3 separate regions of the Homo sapiens genome follow, and all the other regions are linked to region 2. The links are contacts of gene promoters, found by promoter capture Hi-C in human tissues and cell types (Jung and others, 2019). All regions are on one chromosome and are shown on one strand. Each heading gives the region's core, a stretch centred on a gene start or on the middle of the fragment in contact. The rest is flanking DNA. Distances are from core to core; before and after follow the strand shown.

Region 1 (4,281 bases), core at 1,410-3,909, 580 kb before region 2:
AACCAGAAGAATGTCACAAACACAAGCAGAAAGCCAACTTGCAGAGGATTTCATGTGTTATGATGCATTCATTTATTAAAGTTTAAACATACTAGACAGTGTTTGAGGATGCATACATTTGTGGTGAATGTTGAAATGAATGCATGGGAACGGTGAATAGCAGATTCAAGATAATGTTCAGCTCTAGGGAACATGAGCAGGCAGACATGGTCCTGGAGGCATTCACAGGGGGTTTCAACTGCATTGCTTTAAGGTGTTACATTTTTAAGCTTGATGGTGGATACATGAGTGTAGATAAAATTATTATTTATGCTATTCTATAATTTTAACAATTATACCACAGATAATCACTACTACATTTGATGTATGTCTTTACAGTGTAAAATACACAGACATCACATATATATGTGTGCCATAACAAATCTGCCTTCTTAAAAGAAGTCTGTGTTTTAAATTTATCCTTTTATGCTCAAGAGTCTTGTTCTTGGCTGATTCCTGGACTAGAAGCCTATTAAATGCAACTGATAGCTGTCCGTGGCATAAATTAATAAGCAAACATTGGGTGTTTCATTTTTGTGTAATTGCTTACCAGGGCAGGGCTGGGCAAATGTGGAAGATCAGTTGGATATCTGAAAACACTATATGAAATGATATTCCACCTGGCACACTTTCGTCTAAAGAGTGTCTGGTTAGTTGAAGCAGAGTAACAGCATTTCATGTTCATTTCAGATTTTCTTCTGGGAAATTCAGCCCATTCAATTTAAGTAACTGGCTGCTGTATTCAACCTGCATCTACATCACATTGAATTTACTAAAATATATGTTTATAATGGACCTCATTTTATGCCAATGTACACAAAGTAGACTTCAATTTGTATCACAGCTGGGTTTAGGAGAAGCTGCATAAAAACTGAACTTTTATAAATTTAATGCCTTCTCCCCATTGATTTACATTACAATGTCAGATGCTTTGATTTCCTTTTTGAAGCTTTTTAGTAAAAGGTGAAAAGAGTGACACATTAGCAACAAAAATCTCTTTAAATGGCTAATGATCCATCAGAAGCTTTTCAATTGCTTTAGGTTCACTTTTAATGGAATCCTTTTCTAATATGTGTATTTATAGCTCCTATTCTCAAGACCCAGTCATCAAACCCTTCCACGTGTGAATAATTATCCATCTAATTACAATCACGTAATCCTGTTATCAGCCAGACTTGTTCTCATGTTATCGTTGATAAAGTGCCCATGAAGGTGATGTGAGGAGCCAAGCTCTTTGTGTCCTTCTGTGTGCCCAGGAGATGGGCAGAAAAATATGCAATTTCTCATGTTTTCAGTTTATGTTTTACCATGAGTTTGAAGGAATCTTCCTTGTGAAGCCTCAGTCTTTGCAATGATGGTTTACATTCTGAGCATCCTGTGGAAGGAACAGACTGTTCCAGCACCAGGAGGGGATCCGTCCAACCCGGGCAGAAGGATGGTGAATAAGGAATGTCAAGGAGCAGATTCCTACCCTTGAAGGAAGATTCACTTGAAAGTAATTTACTAAGGGGTAGGCCTCAGGAAAACCCAGGGAGTGAGGAATTGGGACTGGGAAGGGAAGGAGGCCAGGCGAGAGTGCAGAGTGGAGCTGCAGTGTGGCTCCTGCTTCCCCAACCACCTGTCATGATGAAGATCTGCCCTCGGGGGCTGTGATGGTTACTTTTATGTGCCAACTTGGCTGGGTCGCAGGTTGTCTGGATGTTTAGTCAAACATTCTGAGTGTTTCTGTGATAGGGTGTTTTTAGATGAGATTAACATTTAAATCAGTAAGGCTGATTGACCTCTGCAATGTGGGTGGGCCTTGTCCAATCCGCTCAAGGCCTGAATAGAACAATAATGTGGAACGTCCTCCAATTAAGAGGGAATTTCTCCTTCCCGACTACCTTCAAGTTGGGACATCAACTTGCTTCTTGCCTTTGGACTTGGACTGAAACATTGGCTCTTGAGCCTGGCAGCTTTAGGACTGGAACCAACCATGGGATCTCCTGGCTTGCCAATGCAGATCTTGGGACTTGTCAGCCTTCATGATCATGAGGCAATCCCTTATAATAAATCGATTTCTCTCTCTCATATATATATATGTACACACACATATATATGTATACACACACATGCATACATACATATACGTATATATACACACACGCATATGTATACATGTATATATGTAATCCCATAAGTTCTGTTTCTCTGGGGAACTCTAATATAGGTAAATACGTCCCCTGATCCCTGGCACTTCCAGGCTGCTGCATGTGGTCCAGGGAGGCTCCAGCAGCCTGGGACAGCCCTGCAACAGAGAAGCAAGAAGATGCTGGCTGTCTCCCCACAGAGAAGGCACGCAGAGGACAGGGGCACAGGAAGAAGGAGGGGCACCGAGGGAATGTGTGGAGGCACGGGTCTGCTACACACGTAGTAACTCACTAACCTTACACCAAATCAGGACGCAGATACTACAGTTATCCCCGTTTCATAGATGAGGAACCCGAGCATGAGGAGAGTCAGCAAGCCGTGGAGCTAACTCAGATCTTGACCGCTGCTTTGGAGGAAAGTTGTGAAATATCCTGCTGGGCTAGAGGTAAAGGGAGGAATAAGCAGTCATCAACACCCCTACGAGGCTGAGTTAATTCAAGGAGTCGAGCAAAAGAGGCAAGGGGAGGGGTAGCTGACAGCTGGGGGCAGAGGAGAAATGCTTGGACAGGGGATGCCGGGGAGAGCGGAGGACTCTGTCGCGCTGACCAGGGCATTCCCCAGCGTGGACTGCAGAAGGACTGCAGCAGAGACGATCTCTGCAGACAGGTCCTTTTCCTCACTGCCCTCAAACACCCAGCGTGGGCTGCTGCCCGCCGGGCCTAGGCTGGAACCAACCACAGGCTTCTCCGAGGACGCGAGGGTCTCAGCCGGCGGCGTTCCCGGCGTGGCCGCGAGAGGGCGCGCCAGCCTCGGGCACCGCCGGGGTCGCGTCCTCCGCGGGAAGCCTGGCAGCCGCGCGTCCACTCCAGGCTGCCTTGGGGAGGGGGTGCCCCGGGGCATTTCCTCAGAGCCCTCCAGCTCCGCCTCACTTTAGAGCACCGCCGCCCCTTTCTGCCCCCTTTCCCAGGTGGCAGCGTATGGGCGCGATTTAGACGGTATGGGACGTTGCCCTGCCCGCCACCCCCTGCCCTCATAGCCTAGTGCAAAGTCTGAAAAAGAAACTGGCCTTGGTGGGTCCTGAAAGATTGCAAATCTGGATAAGTAAACAAAATCTGAAGGCAGCCTCTTAAGTTTAAACCTGGGCCTTGCTTCTGTTTGCTTTGGCTTGAAAACGTTTGGGGGTGGGGCTAGGCGTCAAGATGGAGTGACTGTACCAGCATACCACATTAAAGGGACTGTGCGGTTCCTCCACACAACGGGAGGGTCCTTCCGCACGGAATACAACACCCCCACTATCGAAAGCAAGCCCCTCTTGAGGGCCACCTCCTCCAGGAAGCCCCCGCCCGCAGGAGGACCCTCTGAATGTTGGCATTACTGGCCTGCCCACTGGTCCCTCTGCCCATCCCAGGAGCAACGCCCTGGGAATGCCCCTGGCAGGGGCCAGTTCCTGTCTGTACCCGAGACCCTGAGCTCTTGCAAATTAGAGATGGTTATTCTTTCCCTACTAGGAATTGTAGGCTGGAGTCTACATAGAGTAAGAGAAGAAGGCCAATCACCGACCTGGAATTCCTAGCACCCCTTTGACCCGGCCTTCAGGTCAGAGCTGGCTGCGGGTAGATGGGCCATGGGGGAGATGGGCTTGAAACAATAATGCATAGGCCGTGGGGAAAAGGGAGAGAGAAATTAATGTCCCTTCCAGGTACTCTCCTGGACTGTAGAATGAATGTCTACAGAAGAGTATATGGTCTTATGGGGAAACTGAAGTCCAGAAAGGAGAATATTCCCAGCCAGGATCACACAAGCAATCAAACACCATTCAGATACAGTTAAATCGACTGGACCAACAATCCAAAGGTTTCCGTCCTGGAAGCTGTGTTGCTTTGGGCAACTTGTTTACACCACGGAGGCCTTCATTTCTGAATGTGTGAAACGGTGAAGTTCTGCGGTGTGCAGTGTAAAATGGGGCGGGTGTGTGTGTGCAAAAGCAACAACCCAGGTGTGCAGACCTGCCTCTGCCAGAGTGACCCTTCCCCTAACAGCATCTAACCCAAGAATGGGAGAATTGCTTGCTATGGAGAAATCTAAATATCACACATCAAACCCATAGGAAAC
Region 2 (4,034 bases), core at 247-2,746:
GAAGGAAGGAGAACTTCTGGGGGACACATGGAGACTGAGGAAGAGGGGGCAATCATTTTTGCAAGCTCTGAGCTGCAGCGCACACACAGTCAGCTGTGGAGCTTCACAGCCATTCCCTCTGCAGGCTCCTAGCCTCTCCAGAAACTTCCGTACCCCAGGAGTGGCAGACACAAGGCGATGGGAACAAGAGAGTATCTGCAGAATACACTGCCTGCTAAAGACAAGAGAGGACTCCCCAGATCCTTGCCTTGGTATTGCAGGAAGAGCTCAGCCTCCCAAAATCGGAGGTCAATTTATTGCCTGCCCTGTAGAATGGGAGCCGGAGGTTGAGGAGTGGATGTAAATAAAGGAATGCACTGTTTCTTGCACACACCTCTCTCCACTATCTGGGCAGAGTCTAGGTCTCATCCATCACCAAGGTTCTAGCACTCAGCTGAGAGGCTGCAGCAGGAGGGGCAGATGGAGGAGGGTGCGGTGCATACCATCTCCCCATCAAACCAATGGGCACCACGTGACCATTCTTGTGTCTCTGGGGACTGTCAATCTGCATGCTAGGAAAGGGGTGGCATTCCAATCTTTCATTTTTTTGTGTGTGAGACGGAGTCTTGCTCTGTCACCCAGGCTGGAGTGCAATGGTGCGATCTTGGCTCACTGCAACCTCCGCTCCCCGGGTTCAAGAGATTTTCCTGCCTTAGCCTCCCGAGTAGCTGGGATTACAGGCATGAGCCACCACACCCAGCTAATTTTGTATTTTTAGTAGAGACAGAGTTTCTCTATGTTGGTCAGGCTGGTCTGGAACTCCTGACCTCAGGTGATCCACCCGCCTTGGCCTCCCAAAGTGTTGGGATTACAGGCGTGAGCCACTGCGCCCGGCCCCATGCTTTCACTTTTAAAAATGCTTGTAGGGCACGCAAAAATACTAAACGGTCGATGGAGAAGGTCTGTCTGGAGTAGTTGTTTTTTTTTTTTTTTTTTGAGACAGAGTCTCGCTCTGTCGCCCAGGCTGGTGTGCAGTGGCACGATCTCGGCTCACTGCAAGCTCCGCCTCCCAGGTTCAGGCGATTCTCCTGCCTCAGCCTCCCAAGTAGCTGGGACTACAGGCGCCCGCCACCACACCCGGCTAATTTAATTTTTTGTATTTTTAGTAGAGACGGGGTTTCATCGCGTTAGCCAAGATGGTCTCGATCTCCTGACCTCGTGATCTGCCCGCCTCAGCCTCCCAAAGTGCTGGGATTACAGGCGTGAGCCACCTCGCCCGGCCTGTCTGGCGTAGTTCTAACCAGGAACAGAGCCAGCGGCCAGGGCCGCACCAGGCCTGGCCAGGGAGCGCCGCGCCTGCGCACTGCAGACTCTGAAGCCGCCGAGCCCTCCGCCGAGGTGGGTGGGGAAACTGCCCGGGCATCCGGGTCCCTCACCCCGCCCCCGCTGCATGAATGAGAGGCGCGGCGCCCGCCCCTCCCCCGGCGGGCCCGCCCCTCGCGAGGGGCCGCCGGGCGCAGTCAGCCGCCGCCACCTCCGCCGCGCTCTGTCCGGACGGACGCTCGCCGCCCGCAGCCTGCCGCCCGCCGCAGGGCGCTGACGGTCCCGCACGTCTGCCGCTGCCACCGGCGCGCCCGAGTAAGTGAGCGAGCGAGGGCGGGAGCGCCGCGGCCGCCGCCCCCGGGCTGGGGTTTGGGGGACCGAGCCGCTCCGGGTTCGGGATGCTGAGGAGACCGCGGGCCCGCGCCAGCCTCCCACACACACACACTCTCCCGGCGCCTCGGCCGGCCGGGCGCGGTGTGCAGGGGTGAGGCGGTGTCTCCAGGCTGAGGAGGGACGCGGAGGAGGGTCCGGCGCGGCCCCGGGACTGGAGGGTGAGTCCCTCACAAAGGGCGGAGCGGGGCTGTCACCTGGAGATCACGGAGGGAAGGTGCGTGGGCCCCCGCACGTCCTGCTCGCCCAAGCCCTGGCATCGGGTCCCCGGGCGTGGGAGGCGGCTGGGATGAGCTGGGAGGCTAGGAGGAGGATGGCGAGGACGCTGCCCCCGCGTTGGCGGTGGGCGCGCGCCTTGGGGGGTGCGGCGTGGCAGTGTTTTCCTGGTCCCCGTCCACTCCTCCCCTTTCTTTGTGGCGCTTGTCTCGTGCCCCGTTGTCACAGTGTGCATGGCAGTGGTCGGGGTGGAGACCTCTTCCCTCGGCTTACTCATTAATGAAAGTCACCATCTGTGGGCAGGGGGCGTGTGTGGTTCCACAGGCCGGAGAATTAAGGACCCTCCTTTGTTTCTGGAGACCTAATGATGTGTGTGTGTGTGTGTGTGTGTGTGTGTGTGTGTGTGCGCATTCAAGTGAAAGGGACATCTATGAAATGAGAGAATCAGAGATTGTCAAAAAGGGTATGAGGAAAAGGGGAGGGGATATAACTTCATCACACCTTTACCCAATTCTTTACCTGATGTTATTTCAAACAGTTTTTTCTCACTGTAAAACCAGTGGGTTTTATTCATTGGAAATGTGCATCTAAATTCTCATATATCTGTGTTTCTAGAATACTTTGCCTTTTTGGGCTTAGTTAATGGTAAGATTCTCATGTCTGTCTACATAGGAATACTCCACCGTACAGGACACTGCTTTCTGGGTTTAGTTCATTGATAATTTGTCCGAATGCTCATAAACATGTCTATAGGAATACTCCAATATATCTAGGACACAGTTTTCTCCGCTCCTGAATACAGGCAGATTTTGTTTCTTTCTGCCTCCCTGTGTTAATGAGAAGGTAGTCCAGCAGGTTCTCTCTACCTCCTTGCTTTTTTTTCCCCTTAATGCTTTGGCAGAGGGTTTTATTGCATATTACCCTGGCATGCGCCCTTGCTTTGATGTGAATTTTCCTGTGTTCTGTTGTCTGGTTGTACAGCCCAGCTCAATGGCTCCTCTTACAGGACTACTGGAAAACAGAACACCTTTTTTCATTGTCCTCATCTCCAGAGAGAGAAGGAAGCGCTGTAGGTTCCCACAAACGTTGACTCTGTCAGACTGCCTGCCTGACTTTGTTGTGTTGGTAAAGTTATGAAGAGTTGCAGTTGTTGTAGACCAATTAAAAAGAGGCTATTGGGATAACACCAGCTCTTCCTTGCTATTTTGGTTTTAAAACAAATGATATGAATTTTGCAAGATAGTTGTTAACTCTGGTTGCATGATGATTTTCAGTTTCTTTTTACCCATATACTTTTACAGGGTGTTGGGAAATTAGCCACTCATTTACAAGAAACACACCTCCAAGGTATTTTTATTATGGGTCGGGTGCGGTGGCTCACACCTGTAATCCCAGCACTTTGGGGGGCCGAGGTGGGTGGATCACCAGAGGTCAGAAGTTTGAGACCAGCCTGGCCAACATGGTGAAACCCTGTCTCTACTAAAAAAATACAAAAAATTAGCCGGGCATGGTGGCGAGCGCCTGTAATTCCAGCTACTCGGGAGGCTGAGGCAGGAGAATCGCTTGAACTCCCGGAGGCGGAGGTTGCAGTGAGCCTAGATCGCGCCATTGCATTCCAGCCTGGGCAACAAGAGCGAAACTCCGTCTGAAAAAAAAGCTATTTTTATTATGATCTTTGGATTCAAAATAGCGGTTTTAAAAAATTAAGAGGCGCTTATATTGGATGATATGAATAATTGTATGGGTTCTGTTTTCTTTAAGATTCTCTGTAATATTTTTAAAAATCACATGTATTTTAATTCCTAGTAGTTTTCAGTGGAAAATGAAATGTAAACTAAGCAGTCTTCCACAGCATCTGTTTATGTATATTCCCTCTGTTTAAAACATTTGCTTTTAATTTGAAGGGGAAATTTTCCATGGTCAGTTCAGGATACATTATTCTTAGTAAAATTCTTACCACGTTCAAATTCTTTTTTGTAAGAGTAAAAAAAAATTAATGAAAGTTGATTTTTCAATTGGGGATGTTTTGGTTTTAATGCATGATTTAAATAAAATCTTAATATCAATTAATTTAATTCAGATAAGTTAATTTAAAACAAGGCTTTTATGAAGGAAAAATGAAGCAG
Region 3 (4,451 bases), core at 404-2,903, 620 kb after region 2:
AATGGCATGATCTCAGCTCACCGCAACCTCCGCCTCCTGGGTTCAAGTGATTCTCCTGCCTCAGCCTCCCGAGTAGCTGTGATTATAGGCACACACCACCATGCCCAGCAAATTTTTGTATTTTTAGTAGAGACAGGGTTTCACCATGTTGGCCAGGCTGGTCTCGAACGTCTGGTCTCAGATGATCCACCTGCCTCAGCCTTCCAAAGTTCTGGGTTTACAGGCGGGAGCCACTGCACCCGGCCCAATACAACTTTTAAAATATGATGAAATATGTAAATTATTCTGAAAAAACTCAAATGACTGACTAGAAAGTAGGTAAAGAATATGAGTATGCACTCATAGAAAAAGAAATGTAGATAATCAATAAACATTTGACAACTTCCCTTGTAATTAGGGAAGTGTGAGTTGTAACTCAGAATTCTAGCCACTCATTTAGCATTAGTTGAAGAGTGGTAACACATAATTTAGAAACTTGTGGGAAACAGGTACTCTGGCATATTATAGGTAAACGGTTTAAAAGAACAATTTGGCAACACCTATCAAAATTTAAAATGCAGGCACCTCTTAACCTGGCAGTGCTACTTTTAGATCTCTTCCTTGTAGAAACTTTTGTGTTTGTGCCAAAGATGGACATAAAAGGTTGCTCACCGTAGCATTGTTTGCAATAGCAAACATAAATAGTAAAAATCCTGAATGTTCCATCATAGCAGCTGGTTAAATAAAAACAAAATAATACAGTACAACAGTTTTATTTGATTTATTTTTTATTTTTGTTTTGTTTTGTTTGACACAAGATGTCATTCTGTTGCCCAGGCTGGAGTGCAGTGGCTCAATCTCGGCTCATTGCAGCCTCAACCTCCTGGGCTCAAGCAGTCTCCACACCTCAGCCTCCTGAGTAGCTGGGACCATAGGCATGCCCCTGTAACCACCACGCCTAACTAATTTTTTGTAGAGATAGGGTTTTGCCATGTTGCCCAGGCTGGTCTCGAACTCCTGAACTCAAGAGGCAGGAGAATCACTTGAACCCAGGAGGCGGAGGTTGCAGTGAGCTAAGACTGTGCCACTTTACTCTAGCCTGGGCAACAGAGCGAGACACTGTCTCAAAAATAAATAAATAAATAAATAAATAAAAGGTATTCAACATCATTAGTGATCAGGTATGAGCCACTGCACCTGACCAGCAGTTTTAAAAATGAGATTTGGTTCTATGTACTAAGCTGGAAAGATCTCTGAGGTATAATGTTAAGTGAAAAAAAGCATGTTGCAGAGCAGTGACATATTTTATTGTTTTGCTTATGTAAAAACAAATACTTCCCCAACAGAAAAACACCAAAACTATGTATTACTGAGAGTTGCATACCAAATTGTTCACGTCAGTTTTCTATGATGAGATGAATCAGATTGGTATATGAGGATTCACTTTGTAAAACATTCAAGACACAAAGTGTACAGGATATAAGAAGAATATATTAGTATTTTAATTGTTTAATTTTCAAGATAAAGAAAGCATAAATCATGGAGAAAAACTGGGTAAAAATAAAATTTCCAATTTTTTTCTTCATTTCCAGGGAAGCAAGATAATGAAATATAAACAAACAAGAAAACATACCTGGCTGTTCATGCACAGTTGTTATAAAAGCAGTGAGCAGTGAGTTAACTATTTACATATAAGATGGGAAGAACAGAGATGATTGTTTAGAATTCACATATATTGTACCCACGACTGGCTTTATTGTCAGGAAAACAGTGGGGTTCAGCAGAAAGAAAAAGTTCAGAGTCAGGGTACCTGCTCACTTAGGTTCTGATGATGTTAATCTTTACTTAGCTTTGTGATCTTGGGCAAACTACATCTATTTAGCTCTTGGTTTCTTCTTCTTTGTCATCTATCAGTCATCTATCATGTCTAAATTCTGAGTCTGAATCCAAGGAAAATAAGAAATAAGTTATAATATGAAAGCAGCATCTTTGACGTAAGCTGCATTATTGGGTCTGCTGAGTCTATGCGTCTTCTAAAGGTAGAACTTACAAAGTCATTGGTGACCACATGCTCAGGTAGACCTGGGGGTTAGAGGGCAGTGTCATTGCTGGGTATGGTATATGTTTGAAAAAATTTATTTCTTTTTCTTTTTGTAGATAAGAGTCTCACTCTGTCACCCAGGCTTGAGTGCAGTGGTGCAATCAATGCAGCCTGGAACTCCTGGGCTCAAGTGATCCCCCCACCTCAACCTCCTAAGTAGTTGGGACTTCTGATGCACACCATCATGCCTGGCTAATTTTTTTATTTTTAGTTTTTGTAGAGATGAGGTCTTGCTGTGTTGCTAAGGCTAGTGTTGAATGCCTGGCCTCCCAGAGTGTTGGGATTACAGACATGAGCCACTGTGCCCGCCCTTTGAATATTTTTATTAAAAGGAAAAAAGACAGCCAGGCGTGGTGGCTCACGCCTGTAATCCCAGCACTTTGGGAGGCCAAGACAGGTGGATCACCTGAGGTCAGGAGTTTGAGACCAGCCTGGCCAACATGGAGAAACCTGTCTCTACTAAAAATACAAAATTAGCCAGGCGTGGTTGCGCATGCCTGTAATCCTAGCTACTCAGGAGCCTGAGGCAGGAGAAACGCTTGAACCCGGGAGGCAGAGGTTGCAGTGAGCCAAGATCGCGCTGTTGCACTCCAGCCTGGGCAACACGAGTGAAACTCTGTCTCAAAAAAAAAAAAAAAAAAAGAAGGAAAAAAGACTGGCTGGATACACAACAAACTCATAGTGGTGACCTCTGGGGGGTGAGGATCAATGATGACTTTAGGTTTTTATGTAATATTCCTTTTTTTCCCTCAAAATAGACAGTAAATATTCAACATACATAATTTTAAAAAGCAGTAATGTAGAAAAAAGCAAATATGCCAAAATATTAACAGTGGTTAATTCCGGCTGCTGGGAGTGTGGGTCATTGTGGGTTTTTTAATACTTACTAGGTTTTCTTTTTTTTAATTAAAAGGTAAATAATTAAGTGACACGTTTCATGGTTCATTGATGAATAAAAAACTATCTTCTGGTTAATAATTAAATTTGGGAAGCAGAAAATACACAAAGGAAAGGAAGAATTGAATTTAGTTTCACCATTTGATAATAAAATAAGAAACACTAATTAGGACAGTGTTTATCTCTGGGAAGAAGGTCTTTCTACATTTTATATGCTTGCACTTTCTTTGGATAACATAGTTGTGGAAAGGAAACTTTTCAGTATTGTCTTGGCTTTGTACAGCAGTAGTTGGGGAGCTGTTTTTTTCTTGGTCACCTGACCTTTTCATGCTTTTGTCACTTGCTGGTTGTAACTTTGAAAACCAAAGAGCTCTGGGTAACCTTGGCAGTAAAGCAGCCTACTGTCTGATGGGTTGGGAAGTGGGCCACAGGACCAACTCAATGAACTATTTCTAGTGCAGAGAATGATTGCAAGATCAGCCTTCTATTAAACATGAAAAAGTGGGGAGAGGCAGGCAATCTTCATTGCCCAGAAAAAGTTTTTCTGACTTTAATCTTGATCGTCTTGCTGTTTCAGCCTTGCTGCTTCTAAGACTTTCTTTCCTCTCACCCCCGTATTTTTATTATGAAAATGTTCAAACCATACATAAAATGTGAGAGGCCAGGCGTGGCACCTCACACTTGTAATCCCAGCACTTTGGGAGGCCAAGGCGGGCAAATCACCTGAGGTCAGGAGTTCGAGAACAGCCTGGCCAACATGGTGAAACCCTGTCTCTACTAAAAATGCAAAAATTAGCTGGGCATGGTGGCACACGCCTGTAATCCCAGCTACAGGGAGGCTGAGGCAGGAAAATCACTTGAACGCAGGAGGTAGAGGTTGCAGTGAGCCAAGATCGTGCCACCGCACTCCAGCCTGGATAACAGAATGAGACTTCAAAAAAAAAAAAAAAAAGTGAGAGAATAGTACAATGAATATTTGCTATACCCACCAGATAGATTCCACAGTTTTTAACATTTTGCCGTATGTGGTTTATCTTTTTTCTTCTTCTCAATCTGTCTTCTTTTATGTCAAACCTTTTTGAAGTAAGCTGCAGACATTGTGACATTTCACTTCTAAATATTTCCTTATGCATCTAAAATAAAGGACATCCTACTACATAACCATGATAACATTGCCATACCTAAGAAAATTAACAGTAGATCCCTAATGGTATCAAATACATAGTCCATATTCAAGTTTTCTCAGATGTCTCACAGATGTTTCCATTTTTCTTTTTTTTTTTTTTTTGAGATGGAGTCTTGCTCTGTTGCCCAGGCTGGAGTACAGTGGCGTGATCTTGGCTCACTGCAGCCTCTGCCTTCCAGGTTCCAGTGATTCTCCTGCCTCACCCTCCTGGGTAGCTGGGATTACAGGCGCACGCCATCACGCCAGGCTAATTTTTGTATTTTCAGTAGAGACAGGGTTTTGCCACGT

The links. Contacts are between HindIII fragments. The study calls those that stand out against the background at their distance.
Region 1: a contact is called between a fragment that was not itself captured here and the fragment with the promoter of RNF24 in region 2, in 1 of the 25 tissues and cell types used here (lymphoblastoid cells).
Region 3: a contact is called between a fragment that was not itself captured here and the fragment with the promoter of RNF24 in region 2, in 1 of the 25 tissues and cell types used here (hippocampus).

What each region holds. Positions count from the first base shown.
Region 1 is chr20:4,591,436-4,595,716 of GRCh38, reverse strand. No RefSeq gene overlaps it. Among named protein-coding and RNA genes, the nearest start is that of PRNP, 93 kb to the left of the region's middle. RefSeq lists a silencer at 2,855-3,004. The HindIII fragment of the contact is 3,266 bases long and covers 1,027-4,281 here.
Region 2 is chr20:4,013,020-4,017,053 of GRCh38, reverse strand. RNF24 (ring finger protein 24) reads left to right here and starts at 1,496. Exons shown (of 6, transcript NM_001134337.3): 1 at 1,496-1,617. RefSeq lists enhancers at 1-370, 574-1,506 and a silencer at 1,390-1,989. The HindIII fragment of the contact is 8,027 bases long and covers 1-4,034 here.
Region 3 is chr20:3,389,850-3,394,300 of GRCh38, reverse strand. All of the region lies in intron 1 of DNAAF9 (dynein axonemal assembly factor 9), which reads left to right. Among named protein-coding and RNA genes, the nearest start is that of DNAAF9, 16 kb to the left of the region's middle. The HindIII fragment of the contact is 8,801 bases long and covers 1-4,451 here.